Linked DNA regions of Homo sapiens: region 1 is linked to region 2. The links are contacts of gene promoters, found by promoter capture Hi-C in blood cells and fetal thymus (Javierre and others, 2016). All regions are on one chromosome and are shown on one strand. Each heading gives the region's core, a stretch centred on a gene start or on the middle of the fragment in contact. The rest is flanking DNA. Distances are from core to core; before and after follow the strand shown. Region 1 has its middle 14 kb from the start of PRR9. Region 2 holds the start of CRCT1 (cysteine rich C-terminal 1).

Region 1 (4,652 bases), core at 52-2,551, 720 kb before region 2:
TTTCTTCCTCTTTCTGCCTCTGCCTCTGCCAGTTGACTTTGAGGCCCTTGAGGGGAGTGGCTTTGTCTATTATTTTCTGCATATCTAGTAGCTGGCTCCATAGCAGGCATAGAAGGCTCCCATTAAATGCTTATCAAATGAATGAATAGATGAATGGACACAGCATGCCAGTTTGATGAACGATCCTCACATTTGTATTTGACTGCCAACATTCTTTGTGCCAGGGATTTGCCACTAGCCTGTAGTATGGAGCTGGAGACTGGGCTTTCCTTTCTTGGGACCTTGAACTTGGGTGCTCTGAGTGGGTTCCCCTCTTGTGTCACATATGTATGACATACTTCAGGGTCCCTGTTGAGACCTGCTTAGAACCACTGGATGTCATAGGTGGAAGAAGCCATAAAGAGCATCTAGTGCAATCCCATTCTTTCACAGATAAGGGGGCTGAAAAGACCTCATATCCCCAGCTCTTGTACCTAGCCAAGAGCTGCGATCCAGAGGGCAGTCAGATGGACTGATGGTTTGATTTCATGTGAGCTGAAACAGAGTGACTCTTTAATGCTCTTTGAGGCCGTGGGTGGAAGTGCTGCTTTGCTTTGCAACATCTAGGGCTATGGGCACTGAGGTAGATTTGTCACCTGGAGATTCTAGTAGAAGTAATGACAATTACCAACTGGTACTTCTTGCTGCCTCACGTCCTGCCCCTCCTCATGGCCTGTCACAAACACCTTGCACAACTGTCCTTGTCCTCCAAATGCACATGGGGCAACTCTTTCCATGAGTCAGCTCCACTAAGCTGTGTCATTACTCAGGCTGTGTGGCCTCAGGAATGTCACCTGGGGTCTGCAGGATTGGAGTGGGGCAGGGAGCTGGAGCATGGTTCCCTGGTGAGGCTTTGCCTGGGCCGTGTGAACAGGGACAGGCCACATTCTGAGGAGCCTGGCTCTACGCCAGTTCTTGACCCCTGCTCTGCCTCTGAATCTAAAATTCTCATATTTGAAACTGGGTCAAGGTAAACGTGGGTGATGTGTTGGTGGTAGATATGATGATATAAAGACTGGAGTGTCAGAGTCGATGTTTTAACTCCAGCCTGGGTTAGACTTCAGGTGAGTACTCAACATATGACTGGAGAAACACACTTGTCATATTTTGATCAGGGCTCTTTAAAGGTGAGTAAGTTGGATGTGATTTTCATTTTGTATTTTGTACTATATCTTTAAAAAATCCAAGTCCGGAGAGGGTGAGGACAGAGATGCGTACGATGGAGACCCTCACACTTTGTGGGGACATTAGCACTGGGGATCTTCTGAGGCCAGGGACCTTTTCTTTCTCCTCAAACTGGGGATAACCTTAAGGCCAGGACTGTGTCTCTCCACTGCATTCCCTCTGCAGGCTCCAGAGGGTGGGGCTGTCTTCTTCCTCATCCCGGGGTCTCCCTGAGGTTTGCTATGTCCTGTCTTCACACTGGGGCTTCCCTGGCAGCAAGGGCTTCCTCCAACACCGGATGAAGTCTAGGAACACTTAGGCCTCAAATTGAGGAACCTGTGATGGACAAAAATAGTAGCATGCATTACAAAAGGGCAGAATTGTCATTTTCCTTCTGCCTCTGTGGCCAGCATGGCAGGCATTTGGCAAAGGGCAAGGGGAGGCATGGTTCCAGCATCTGGAATCATCACACTGACTTTGTGTATGTATGTGTGTGCGTGTGTGTGTGTGGTATATGGTGTGAGAGAGTGCAGTGTGTGAACCTCATGCAGGTGAGTCTCTGGGGGGTGACGGGGAAGAGGTGCTCCCTCTTCTAGGAGGACATGGTAGGGGCAGAGAAGCAGGCATGGGCTGAGTAAACCCATGCAAAGTCTGATTAGGGCTTAAAGTGTGTTTGCCATCTGGGCCTGACTCAGCCTCTGGTGTCAAAGGTTCAGGCGAGGTTGCTTTGTGAACAGGGTGGAGTAGTCCGGGTCCACTTGTGGAAACTCTATAAATGGAAGCCTGGGCTTCGGTGTTGGCTTCCCTCCTGGTTTGGGGAAGTGCTGCTCAGTCCTGCCTCCTCCCACTCACCTTCCCACACCTGGACACCTGCAGCCAGGCATCTTTCATGAAGGCCTCTTCTGTCCTAGAGTAGGTCTGAGCTGGGATTTTCTTTGAGCAGCAAACCAATCCAGCTGCATCCAGGAACCCCACAGACTGCCCTGCTTGGTACCTCCCTTTGCTCCTCAGTCCACTCTGTTCTGTTCTGGCCTCTGTGTCCCCACTCAGGCTGTCCTCATCAAGGTCACCAGCCACTCTGCATTTCTTGACCAGTTAGTATTGGTTGACTCCATTGATTTTCCTTCCTTTCTTGGACACCTGTCTTCTCTTGTCTTTCCAGTCTCCACCCTCCTAGTTTCTCTTCCTTCACTGACCGCTCTTTGTCAGCTGGCTGTACAGGCTCCTTCTGCGCTGTCCAACCTTGAGATCTTGTGGAGTCCTCAGCTCGGTAGGGCCCTCTCTTCTTCTCCTTGGGTGATCTCAGCCACTCACATATCTTTAAATACCTTCTATGTGATGACAGCTCTCAAATATGTACATTTTTGGCCCAGATATCTCTGAGCTTCAGACATGTACCCACATATCTCCTAGTCCTCACCTCTCTGCATCCACCTAGTGGCCTAAGCCATAAACTTGGGAGTATTTCTGCCTTCTTTCTCCTCCTTTACCCCACACATTGAGTCCCCCTGCTACTCCTGTTAGTTATTCCTCCAAAACACTTAGCGTCACCCTCTTGTCTTTGTCTCCACTGCTGCCATCTACCACCTTTAGCCATAACTCTAGTAGCAGGTCCTTCCTCTCCCTATTTCATGCTTCCTCCAACATCCAGCCTTTATACATTTTGCAGATGGAATAATCTTTTGAAGCTTTGAATCAAATAAAAAGCCTCTACTGAGACCCCTTCGGGGTCTTCCCGATGCATTTTGAAAAACATCTGAACAGTATATACATGTTGTCTGAGGTTTGATGGGATACATGCTCAGGCAGGTGTGTGTTTATGCCTGTGAACAAACCTAAACAGATGCAGGTGCATATTCACCCTGGCCACAATGTGCCCACCCCAAGATAGCCCTATTGTTTAGGGTCTGGGACCCATCAGTGTCTGGCATCATGCTTGGCATTAGGTGCTCAGCAGGAGCTCAGTGAATGGATAAATGAGCTTTTGGTGTCCTCTAAGTGTAAACTCCACAAAAACAGCACTTTTGGTCTGTTTACTGCTACATCTCCAGCACCTAAAGGAAAGCTTGGCATACAGTAGCTACTCAACAAAGATTTGTTGAATGAAAAAATAAATGAATGAGAACACAATGAGTAATCTACAGATAGGCTTTGTCATTCTGGCTATTTAGGAATCAAAGGTAATGTGTTCAGTGACACTTTTGTCAGTCAATTCACATTCAAGAAAATGTTCCCTCAGATTTCCTCTCACCTCCAGCACGCTGCCATTGCCACCATCATGTAACCCATCATTTCTGTTGCTCTCACCTCAGATCGGCCTTTCCACATTACCCGAGCTAAAGAGCACCCCTCTTCCCTGGTCATTTTGTTTCATTTTCTTCAATTTCTTATTTATGCATTTGCTGAGTTGCTTTTTGTCTGTCTTCCTCCTCATGTGAGCTCTGGGAGGCAGGGATTCTGTGTATCTGGTTCGCTGCTGTAACTCCAGTGCTTGGCTCATAGGAGATTCTGTGTCACTTACTCTCACATAGGAGAAATTTGTTTTAAGGGAACAATAGAAGTGGTGGAGTCTAGATTTGAATTCCAGAAGTCTGATTCCTGAGCCTATGTCCTGAACCATTATTCGTGTTGCTCCCACCCTATAAGTAATGTAACTCTGTCTTGCACATATAGCCTTCCTCTGACTCTGTTAGATGCTGCATCTCTGTACTCTTGTCTTCTCCACATGGAGCATTGACTGGACCCGAGTGTGTGCGGCCATCTCCAACTCAGGCCAGACTGGGTGTGATTAGTAGAAGGCCAAGTGCCTCTATGGCCAGCAGGTGGTGCTGTTGGGAAGAGAAGAGAAAAGGGGTCCCCAGCGGCTTCTAAAGGAGGGAGGACTGGTTATGAGGCTGGCTTGGGAACCGGGTGATGAGGGAGGTTGAGTTGAGAAGGCCCTGCCAGCTGACCACCTCTTTTCTTTCAACCATGAATGGCGGTGGTGGCCCCCACGATACCACAGTCACCACCATCACCCCTGACCGACAACTCCAGAACACCAAGCTCCCCTCTGAGCTGGCCCTACAGGGCGAGTGGCCAGACTCTCACATGCTCGTCAGTTGAGACAGGGTCTCAAGGATGTAACCCAAACTATACATTCATTTAGTGTAAAGGTTATTCCTTCATGCATTATCCCCTGGATAGGCGACCTTAGGGGATGCCTCTCACTCCCTACCCTAGTTTTTGATGAACTCCTAAGCCATAGATTCAGTTTTAGAGATAAGTATAATAGTCCTTAAAGTATGATATTAAACATGACAGAGAGTGTGTCATCAAAGGTATTTCCCCTGGGTTAAAGCTTGTATTTTTAAACCAAGAATATGGGCATTGGAATCAGATGAGCTGGGTTTCAGCTCTGGCATTGATACTTACTGGCCGGATAATCTTGGTCAAGCTGTTAAACCTTT
Region 2 (4,246 bases), core at 669-3,168:
TAAGGCTTGGGAAGCCCAGGTGAGAACTCAGCAGAGCAATGAAGCCCTTGAATCAGATGTCCTGTCTTCTTTATCATGCGCCAGCTGGGTGACTTTGAACAAATTACTTAACCTCAGTTTCTCTTCTGTAAAATGGGTATAATTGCACTCTCCTACGCAAGTCATTATGAGAATCAGATTGTGCCACATAAAGTCCTGAGAATATTCAAGGACTTTGTCGCATAAAATCCTTAAAATACTCGAAACAGTCGATATGTGATCGCTGCTATCATAATTAACTATCAGAAAGCCACCTTCTTGTTCAGGCATGAATTATAGTATTCTGCCTTTCACAAACATTTCAAGCCTTTCTACCTGGGTGGAGAAACGAATGAAGAACAAATAAAAGGTGTTCTCAGGAGGTAGAAGCTTTATTATGACATCTTCAAAAGACAATCAAATCAATAGACATTTGCTGAGCACCTGCTGTGTGCAAGCCCGTGTAGACAGTAGGGTCCAGTGTCCCACGCATGGCTCTCGAATCCCCGGGGAGAAAAATCACATCGGGGTCAGGGAGTTTTGCGTGGCTGAGAACAAAGTGGGTTTCTGAACATCAAAGTGCAATTCGCTTTACGGGGCAAACTCCGAGGCCCAGCCCCGCGTGGGAGCCGCAGCGGGGCGGGCCCGCTCTGGGCTGGGCGGGTTTCTCTAGCGCAGCGCTGGGGGTTGCGGGCCTCTCAGCAGCCGGAGCAGCATCCTGAGCTCCGGTTGTTGGAGCGCTGGGACCTCTGGCTGCCGCCCCCGCAGCAGCAGCAACCACTACTCCGCTGTCGGCGGCGTCTCCTTGGGAAGCAGCAGCAACTGGTGGAGCTGGAGCCGCAGCAGCCTGAGTCGCCGCAGCAGCCCCTGCCGGAGCCGCAGCAGGAGGAGGAGGAGGCGGGCGCCGGGGTGGGCGCCGGGGCGGGACACGGAGCGGGGCCCTGGGACGACCCCTTGGAAAAGCCTTTGGCGGAAACGGCGCTCTGTTGAGAGGACATCGCGGAGCTCCTCACGACAAACCTGGAAGAAAGGCAGCCTTTCAAAGGCGAGCCGGCTTTTTCTTTCCACCAATGGAACTCTGTCTGGGCTTTTGAGATTCGGCTTAGTGTACAAGTCAGCCTGGCCTGGGACAAGGAGGGAAAAGCACCCAGAAAGAGCGGACGCAAAGAAGCAAATCCAAGCAGGTGTTTCCAGTGAGTTAAACATGCTCAGAGCAGGACACAATCCATGCAATGAATCAATGCATTTCCATTTTCTCTGACTAGAAGAAGACTGCTCAAGTTCTCCACAGTGGAAAATAAACAGCACACTGCGGCAACTTATCTGTATGATCCAGTCCAAAATCTCCACTTGGCTTTTTTCTTGTCCCTCATTTTACTTTCCTACCGACCTTCGACTGTATCTTCCTAGTTACTACACCCCCATCAGTTAGAAAACACCCAAGTCCAACAGGCGGTCCCACCTGCTGGGTCTAAATAATCCACAGGCCAGAAGCATGTCCTGATCATTCTTTCTTGCCTACGCCTCTCATGCCCCACAACCATGTGGGAAAGGAGAGTTGTGCCAATATAAATAACCCCATCCAGGGAGCTGAAAGACCTGGGTTCTAGTCACAGCTCTTCTGCGGACTTGCTGTGTACCCTTGCAAAAACCACCTCCTATGTTGCCTTTATGTCCTCATTAGTACCTTAAGAGGTTGGCTCACTAGAAGCGTAGGTGCCTTGCGGGACACCCCTTCCACATCTATCTGCTGCCTGTGTTCTGTTTGCTCCTCCCCTGTGCCCTCAACTCATCCCACCCTCTCCCCCAGACCCTGCTAGGAGACTTACCAGACCCTGGCTCCACTGAAAGACTCACTACGTTCTCCAACTGGAATGGGCCACCTGCTAGGCAGTGGATTGAGCAGCGTCCAGCCAGAGAACCTTTTTATAAGAAGTATTCAGGTTCAGGCTCTTGGGAGGGGCCCATTTCCCAACAGACGTGCTCAGCTGACACTCACATCCCAGAGACATTCATCACTCAGGTAGCATTGTAGGTGGTGCATGTGGGCATCTAAGTCACTTCACAGAGGTGCCAGGATTGCTATGGCATGTTTACTTTCCAAACAGGGCACTGTTTGTACCTGGGAGGCTGTGTGTATGCTAAGAGAGGGCATGGGGCTCAAATGCAGGGAGGTCTGGAACCCCTGCCCTTGTCTTCAATACACACACACACACACACACACACACACACACACACACACACAGACGGCTCCACTTGCCCACACATCCATTCCTATGTAGTCATCTACTTGGTAGGTGGTAGTTCACCTATTTTTATCTTGATTCTCATCTCTCTGGCTCTTGGTCCTTGGCTCCCCAGGGCAGACCACAAGCTATGCGATAAGCCTGCTGGGTTTCATCCATATGCTTCAAGATGCAGTGAGTGAAGATGATGACGGGGATGCACCTTTGGGAACCCCAGGGGTGATTTCTCTCTGTCACTGGAGACAGGAAGAAAAACCTAGGCAAAGTTAAGGAACCATAAGACCAGAAAAGTTGTGAATGTAGTCAGGTTGCCATATCCCCATAATACAGCATGGTATGACAAAGAGAAAAATGTGTGCAGGACAGTGGCCCAATTGCAAAAAGGCTAGTCAGCCTGTGGGACTCCTGCTTCTTATCCCACCCCCAACCACCAATCTGCCTTTGAAGATAAGTTCTCCCTAGGGCCACTGCCCAGTGCAAAAGAAAATGGGAAAGGAAGAAGGGAGGGAGGGAAAGAAGAAAAAAAAGAGAAAGAAAGAAAGAAAGTTCTTTCCAAAGGTCCAAAGTGTTCATGATAGATAGTGTTTTCAGAATAACTAATTTTTAAGAATTGGAGGATACTTTGGCAGTCAACTTCAGAACTGCTTCTTAATCAAATTGCCCACAACTGTGAATGTGAACTATAACAGAAGTCCAAGACTAAGAATTCAGGAATTAAGGATGAGAGACAGGTTTGGGGGCGAGTGAGCTGGGAGTGGCTCAAGGGACTAGGCGAGGAAAGATAAGTCACAAAAGATACCAGTTTCATTTAACATGGATTTAGAGCCTGATTAACAGGTTGCCAGTTCCTAGAGCACCTGTTGGTGAGTATAGGTGAGACATTCCAAAAAGTAAAGTCAATATTAGAACAGAGAAGGAAGTAATGAAATAACAAGACAGAGGCAGGATCTCCTCTGGGAAAATGGGCAAAGTTCTTTTAAAAAAAAAAAAAAAGAATGAAGAACGTTTGGTAGGAATCAGTATAAGGAGATAATCTGGGCAAGTGCCTACTCATTCTGTGGGCATCCTATGATCTCATAAACCAGCTTACTTTATTTATCGCTATTAACTCTTATCAAAGGAGGCATCAATTGTTTATCTTTTATATTAAAGGCTGATTTGGAATTAACTTTTCTAGTTATCTTTTCTAGGTACATTATGAGTGTCTCCTGAAGGAACCAGCCCATTCCTAAAGAAATGTTGCTTGGAAAACCCAACACAGGGACCAAAACCCCTGTACTCTTATACCTCTCACTGCACACACACACACACACACACACACACACACACACACGTACGTCCCAACCACATAGAGACAGTCTTTGCAAAGAAGGGTGTCTTTCTCAGTTCTTTACCCAGATTCAAATCCAGGATTTCAGCATGCAGGGAAAATGTGCTCAGACGTTTCATATCTGCCTCCAAAACTCACTCACTGCCCACCCAGCTCTCCCTCTAGCCAACTGATGGAAACACCTGAGCTTATAATAATCAGAAAAGTAAAGAGTGTCCATTTATTAGAGCCCAGGATGAGCACTTCAGGCAATCTTATTCCCCATGAATGGGGACAAGCAATTTTTCAAACTGTGACCCATGCTTGAAGGAAACCCTCTCAGAACCTGAACCTTTTGAGTACAACCATCCTCTTCTCTTCAAACCCATTCCTGGCTCTCCTCATACAATCTTGTGTCTGGCGTAATGGTCTCAGACATTATTCTTTCCTTCAAGCTTAAAGTTCCAGAATCCAGTGCATAGAAGGAAATATTGTTTTCCAGAGGCCTAAGTAGCTTCACTGCCAAAATGTGCTTCCTAAACAAGTTTGTAAAGTGTTCGCTTGCATTTAAGAGAAGGGAAGGGAAGATGGCTTGATGCAGCAGGTAGGGAGTGGGAGAGGCAAACAATGAAATCAGGAGGCAGTGATATCAGGAATAAAAAGCTTTATTGTT

The links. Contacts are between HindIII fragments. The CHiCAGO score rates a contact against its expected background, and 5 or more counts as called.
Region 1: a contact is called between a fragment that was not itself captured here and the fragment with the promoter of CRCT1 in region 2, in 1 of 17 cell types (M0 macrophages). The highest score is 6.0, in M0 macrophages.

What each region holds. Positions count from the first base shown.
Region 1 is chr1:153,228,833-153,233,484 of GRCh38, reverse strand. No RefSeq gene overlaps it. Among named protein-coding and RNA genes, the nearest start is that of PRR9, 14 kb to the right of the region's middle. The HindIII fragment of the contact is 3,185 bases long and covers 1-2,893 here.
Region 2 is chr1:152,512,154-152,516,399 of GRCh38, reverse strand. It overlaps CRCT1 (cysteine rich C-terminal 1), which reads right to left and starts at 1,918. Exons shown (of 2, transcript NM_019060.3): 1 at 1,848-1,918; 2 at 392-1,038. The coding sequence starts at 1,016. The coding sequence ends at 717. It overlaps LCE5A (late cornified envelope 5A), which reads right to left. Exons shown (of 2, transcript NM_178438.5): 2 at 4,223-4,246. The HindIII fragment of the contact is 3,620 bases long and covers 411-4,030 here.